Linked DNA regions of Homo sapiens: region 1 is linked to region 2. Evidence: promoter capture Hi-C in 16 types of primary human blood cells and fetal thymus (Javierre and others, 2016). All regions are on one chromosome and are shown on one strand. The core of a region is centred on a gene start or on the middle of the fragment in contact, and the rest is flanking DNA. Distances in the headings are between cores, read along the strand shown. Region 1 overlaps TEX10 (testis expressed 10). Region 2 holds the start of MSANTD3-TMEFF1 (MSANTD3-TMEFF1 readthrough).

Region 1 (2,855 bases), core at 189-2,688, 100 kb after region 2:
TACCTTGCCCTCCTAAGCAGTTTTATAAATATATATAAATATATATAAATATATAAAAATGTATATTATATATAATATATAAATATATATAAAAAACAAATATGTGTATATATATATGTATATATATATATATACTTTTTTTTTTTTTTTTTTTTTTTTTTTTTGAGATGGAGTCTCACTCTGTTTCCCAGGCTGTGGCACCATCTCAGCTTACTGCAACCTCTGCCTCCTGGGTTCAAGTGATCCTGCTGCCTCAGCCTCCCAAGTAGCTGGGATTACAAGTGTTCACCACCATGCCTGATTAATTTTTGTATTTTTAGTAGAGACAGGGTTTCACCATATTGGCCAGGCTGGTCTTGAACTCCCGACCTCAAGTGATCTGCCCACCTCAGCCTCCCAAAGTGCTGTAATTATAGGCATGAGCCACTGTACCCAGCCTTAAGCAATTATATTCTGAATCATAAAAGAATGTGTCAGGGTCCAGTCATGAAACAGAAACTGCGACAGTGATTTTTTTTTGAGACAGAGTCTCACTCTGTTGCCCAGGCTGGAGTGCAAGGCGTAATCTTGGCTCACTGCAACCTCCATCTCCCAGGTTCAAGCGATTCTCCTGCTTCAGCCTCCTGAGTAGCTGGGATTATAGGCATGCACCACCACGCCTGGCTAATTTTTGTATTTTTAGTAGAGATGGGGTTTCTTTCACCATATTAGCCAGGATGGTCTCAAACTCCTTACCTCGTGACCCACTACCTTGGCCTCCCAAAGTGCTGGGATTACAGGTGTGAGCTACCGTGCCTGGCCGACAGTGATTTTTTTAACAAGAGAATTTAATGTAAATAATTGTTAACTAGGTATGCAAAGGAAGTTAGGTATTATGGAGGTACCAACTGCAAGAAGCAGATACTACTTGTAGAACTGGGAGAACAAAGAAGGGAAGAAGCTTGGAGGAAGGGAGCCAAAACTCTAACCTCTCAGAAGGGTATGCTCCTCAGGCAGGTACTGATATCTTTAGCTGAGAGCAAGAACCCCATAGGGCTGGGGCCCAGTACTCTGAAAAGCGGGTGCTGGCTGGCTGGTGCTGACGTTTCTTAGAGGCATGATGATTCTGGTTCTGTGTCAGAAAAACTACAAACTGGAGTCTGCTATGGCTACTATAATGAACTGCAAATGACCTGAAGAAGAGCTGCCGATCAACACTGGCAGCAATAGGAAACAAAAACAAAACTAGCAAGCAAACAGAAGAGTGTCCCGTCTTCCTCTTACAGCTTTCTAGGCCCTTTGTACCACCCCTTTATTGGCAGAGCCTAATAAGCCATCTACAAAGGAAAAAATGTGGGTCGCAGAGTCCCAACCCCAGGGTCACAAAGCAGAGTATAGAGGGCGACTTTGAAGCTGAGAAACAGTAGCTCTGTAACTAACATTTACATGTGTATATTTACATATGTAACACAAAGCAGTATAAAAGTATCATTAGAACTATACAACTAAGTGCTATAAGAATTCATAGGAAGAGACAGATAACTGCTTATTAGGATAAACAGACAAAGCTAAATTGAAGAGTAGTATTTGAACTGGGTATGAACGTGGATATGGTTTCAGGAGGCAGAAATGCAAGGGATGAGACTTTTGTAACTAGAGGAGATAGCATACAAGAAAGCTACAGGATTAGGAAATGGATGGAGAGCGTGGATCTGGGTCCAGTCTGATTTCTGCTCTTCACTGGCCTTGATGTGGAAGCCGTTTCTTGACTCAGGAGTTCATCTTTCAGATCCTTTTGGCATTGAAGACTTTTGGTTCAGTCAGAACTGTTTTAGGGAGCTTCTGGAGTTGAGGGGACAGAATCAAAGAGACACTTTATTGAGCAAGATGTTAGACTTTTTCCCCCCATACAATTTTCTTATTAGAGTTTTTCTTCTGGGATTCATAGGTAAGCTTCAGAAAATCCATGAACTCTCAAAGTATTGATGGAGAATTATATGTATGTGTATTTTTTCAAATAAGGCATTCCATGTATAATTTTCATCAAAATGTGATTAAATTGTGGTTTAGATGTTTAGGATTTAGTAGACTTCAGTGTAAATAAATTATTGAAAAATGTATCAGCATATCATCATTCAAGAAATTTATTGGACTCTTATGTGCAAGGCACTTATTGTACTAGTTGCTGAGCATTTCATGGTAAAGGAAATAGGTAGAGTACCAGCTCTCATGGAGTACGGTCTAATGAAAAAGACATTTATTTCACTTGATTCTTTAATCAGTGACTGATTGTGATAGATATAGTGAAGGAAGAGCTTAGGTTAATACAGGAGTATGTAACAAAGAGTTGGTCCTGATCTTTCATGAGGGGAGGACCATCTTAGAGAAGGCTGCCCTGATGGAAGTGACAGCGTGCTGAGATATAAATGGGAAAAAAGAAAAGGAATTAACTTTATGAGGAGGTTGAGATGATGAAATTGAGGGATTTTTAGCAAAGATGGATTGCCAGTGTGACCTACTTTTCAAAAGATTCCCCCCTCATGATTGATTTTTGGGGAGCCTACAGGCTACTCTTAAGTAAATGCATTAAATACTTAGCAAATAGCCTGTGAACAGCAGCACAAATCACAGTTAGGGAAGTCAACAGTGGTCTAGGCCAACGGTCCCCAACCATTTTGCTATGAGGGACTAGTTTCATGGAAAACAATGTTTCCATGGACCTGAGGTGGGAGGCTTGGTTTTTGGGATGATTCAAGTGCATTACATTTATTGTGCGCTTTATTTCTATTATTACATTGTAATACGTAATGAAACAGTTTTACAGTTTACCATAATGTAGAATCAGTGGGAGCCCTGAGCTTGTTTTCCTGCAACTA
Region 2 (3,186 bases), core at 492-2,991:
TGTTTTTTTCCCCAAGAATTATGTATGACATATTTTTCTCTTTTTAATGGAAGTATATTAAACTTAAAGTTAATTTCTTTTGGAGCTTTTCAAGATCCCTGGGGTGCCACAAACCAAAACTGTGGATCACAATAGTATAATGGCAAAAAATGCTGGTTTTTAATCTGGGTGAATGCTAAAACAGGCGTTTATCATATTATTCTTTGCACTTTTTTTAAAGTTTGAAATAGTTCTTTTTTTTTTTTTTGAGATGGAGTTTTGCTCTTGTTGCCTACGCTGGCGTGCAGTGGTGCTATCTTGGCTCACCACAACCTCTGCCTCCCGAATTCAAGCGATTCTCCTGCCTCAGCCTCCCAAGTAGCTGGGATTACAGGCATGCACCACCACGCCCGGCTAATTTTGTATTTTTAGTAGAGACGGGGTTTCTCCATGTTGGTCAGGCTGGTCTCAAACTCCCAACCTCGGGTGATCCGCCCACCTCAGCCTCCCAAAGTGCTGGGATTACAGGCATGAGCCACAGAACCCAGCCGGTTGACTCTTTTAATATGGCCTTTTGAGTGGCCTACTGCAATGCTTTGCAAATAATAAGGACCTCCAAAAATATTTTTTGAAAAAAGTGAAATTGAGTGGATGAATACAAATCTTCATACAATTCTCTTTAACATATTTGAGACAGGCTGATAGGCAACTGCAGCACCTCACTAATAAGAACTCCATTAATCCAGTCCCTTATTTTTCTTTATGTTTAAGTAATAATAAAGTCTCCAAGAGAGCTAGCACAATGATGTAAACAAGTACTTTTGTTTTTATATATTACTTTTTTTTTTTTTTTTTTTTTGAGACAGGGTCTCACTCCGTCACCCAGGCTGGAGTGCAGTGGCGCAATAACAGCTCACTGCAGCTTCCACCTCCTGGGCTCAAGTTATCCTCCAGCCTCAGCCTCCCGAGTAGCTGGAACTACAGGTGCATGCTACCATGCCCAGCTAATTTTTTCTATTTTTTGTAGAAACAGGGGTCTCACTTTGTTGCCCAGGGTGGTCTCAAATTCCTGAGCTCAAGCCATCCTCCCGCCTCAGCATCCCAAAGTGCTGGGATTACAGGCACGAGCCACCACGCCCACTTCTATAAGACTTTGAATGTCCTATATAATCCTGAGATCTTGAATTAGGAAAATTGGATTTGATACAAAAGTTTCATTTTTAGAAGTTCCCTCAAAGTGGAGGGTTTTAAAATTAAAATGTCAAACAGATACCCAGTGAGAGCGTGCACACTGGCATCAGGAACGGATACCTTGGGCTGAGGCGTCGGGGTGGTATTCGGGCTCCTCCTCCGGGGGGCTCTGCAGGAAGTAGAGCTGCTCCGGCAGCATGCTGGCGATCTTCTCCTTCCCTAGGACGTGGGTACTCAGGAGAGGGCTGACGCTCCGTTTCACTTTCTCTCTCCTTTCATGGGCCATAATTTTTTTGGTCCGAGCCTTGATGTTCTCCCAGCACTTCTTCAGCTGTTTGAAATCCCGCAGGGACACGCTGGGCTGAGAGTTGTATTCGTGGGCCAGCGCCTGCCAGGTACGCTGCTTAAGGGCAATAGTTCGCGCATCACTTTTCTTACATTCCAGCACATATTTATACTTTTCTACTAAAGCCAGCAGGATGCTCTTTTCCAATTCTGAGAAGTATTTGGCAGGCTTTATAATTTCGTTGTTTTGCATTTTCCACTGTATTTCTCCTGGCCGCTAGCTATCCTGTAAAAGGAAGTTTGAAGCAATGATTACCAACTCCAGCAAAAACAATGCCTATAAATCACTGAAGCTTAATTCCTGACTTGATTCCCTTGTCTGAAATACAGTACTTTCTTTTCCATTAAGGTTGAATTATGATATTCAGGACTCTGGAGAATATTTAGAAATGTACTAGGAATGGGGTTTTATTTCAAAGTGGATTGTTGTGGCTATACTGTGACTATCTGGTATATAACAGCAAAAAAAGAAAAGTTGAACATTTTTTTTTTGAAACGGAGTCTCGCTCTTGTCACCCAGGCTGGAGTGCAGTGGCACGACCTGAGCTCACTGCAACCTCCACCTCCCGGGTTCAGGCAATTCTCCTGCCTCAGCCTCCTGAGTAGCTGGGATTACAGGTGCCTGTCACCACGCCCGGCTAATTTTTTTTTTGTAGTTTTGGTAGAGACAGGGTTTCACCATGTTGGGCAGGCTGGTCTCGAACTACTGACCTCAAGTGATCTGCCTGCCTCGGCCTCCCAAAGTGCTGGGATTACAGGCGTGAGCCACCACGCCCGGCCTAGACTCTGATTTGTTAATTGATTTTTCTTTAATATTAGGGAACTGATTATTCCCCCAAATCATGTTAGCCAGTTTTAGAACTAAACAGCTTTCCAAAACTTTTGTCACAGCTGAGGACAAAAGAAGCCACCGTGTACTCAAATATAAAATATGATGTGGGAGGCTGAGGCAGGCGGACCACGAGGTCAGGAGTTCCAGACCAGCCTGACCAGCATGGTGAAACCCCATCTCTACTAAAAATACAAAAATTAGCTGGGCGTGGTGGCGTGCGCCTGTAATCCCAGCTAGTCAGGAGGCTGAGGCAGGAGAACTACTTGAACCCGGGAGGTGGAGGTTGCAGTGAGCCAAGATCGTGCCACTGCAATCCAGCCTGGGTGACAGAGTGAGACTCCATCTCAAAAAAAAAAAAAAAAAAAAAAGATGTACAGCCGGGCACAGTGGCTCACACCTGTAATCCCAGCACTTTGGGAGGCTGAGGTAGGTAAATTGCTTGAGCCCAGGAGTTCGAGACTAGCATGGGCAACAAGGCAAAACCCTGTCTCTAAAAAAAAAAAAAAAAAAAAAAAAAAAGGGAAGAAAAAGAAGAAAAAAAAATAGCCAGGTGTGGTGGCATGCACCTGTAATCCCAGCTACTTGGGAGGCTGAGGTAGGAGGACTGCTTGAGCCCAGGAGGTCGAGGCTACAGTGAGCCATGTTTGCACCACCGCACTCCAGCCTGGATGACAAAGGAGACACTGTCTCAAAAAAAAAAAAAAAAAAATTTGACGTTTTCATCACTCTGTGGCATGTACCTGGAGCAATGGCAACCTCAGTTTTTTCATCTTTAAAATGAGGGGTTGGAGTCTGTGATCCTTCAGGTATGCGGGCTGTTTTTTAAAATCCTAAGTAAA

What was found. Contacts are between HindIII fragments. The CHiCAGO score rates a contact against its expected background, and 5 or more counts as called.
Region 1: a fragment that was not itself captured here is called in contact with the fragment with the promoter of MSANTD3-TMEFF1 in region 2 in 1 of 17 cell types (M1 macrophages); the score reaches 5.4 in M1 macrophages.

Annotation. Positions count from the first base shown.
Region 1 is chr9:100,336,555-100,339,409 of GRCh38, reverse strand. The region is part of intron 5 of TEX10 (testis expressed 10); the gene reads left to right. Among named protein-coding and RNA genes, the nearest start is that of TEX10, 15 kb to the left of the region's middle. The HindIII fragment of the contact is 992 bases long and covers 943-1,934 here.
Region 2 is chr9:100,440,461-100,443,646 of GRCh38, reverse strand. It overlaps MSANTD3-TMEFF1 (MSANTD3-TMEFF1 readthrough), which reads right to left and starts at 1,741. Exons shown (of 10, transcript NM_001198812.1): 1 at 1,291-1,741. The coding sequence starts at 1,708. It overlaps MSANTD3 (Myb/SANT DNA binding domain containing 3), which reads right to left. Exons shown (of 3, transcript NM_080655.3): 2 at 1,291-1,741. The coding sequence starts at 1,708. The HindIII fragment of the contact is 4,285 bases long and covers 1-1,810 here.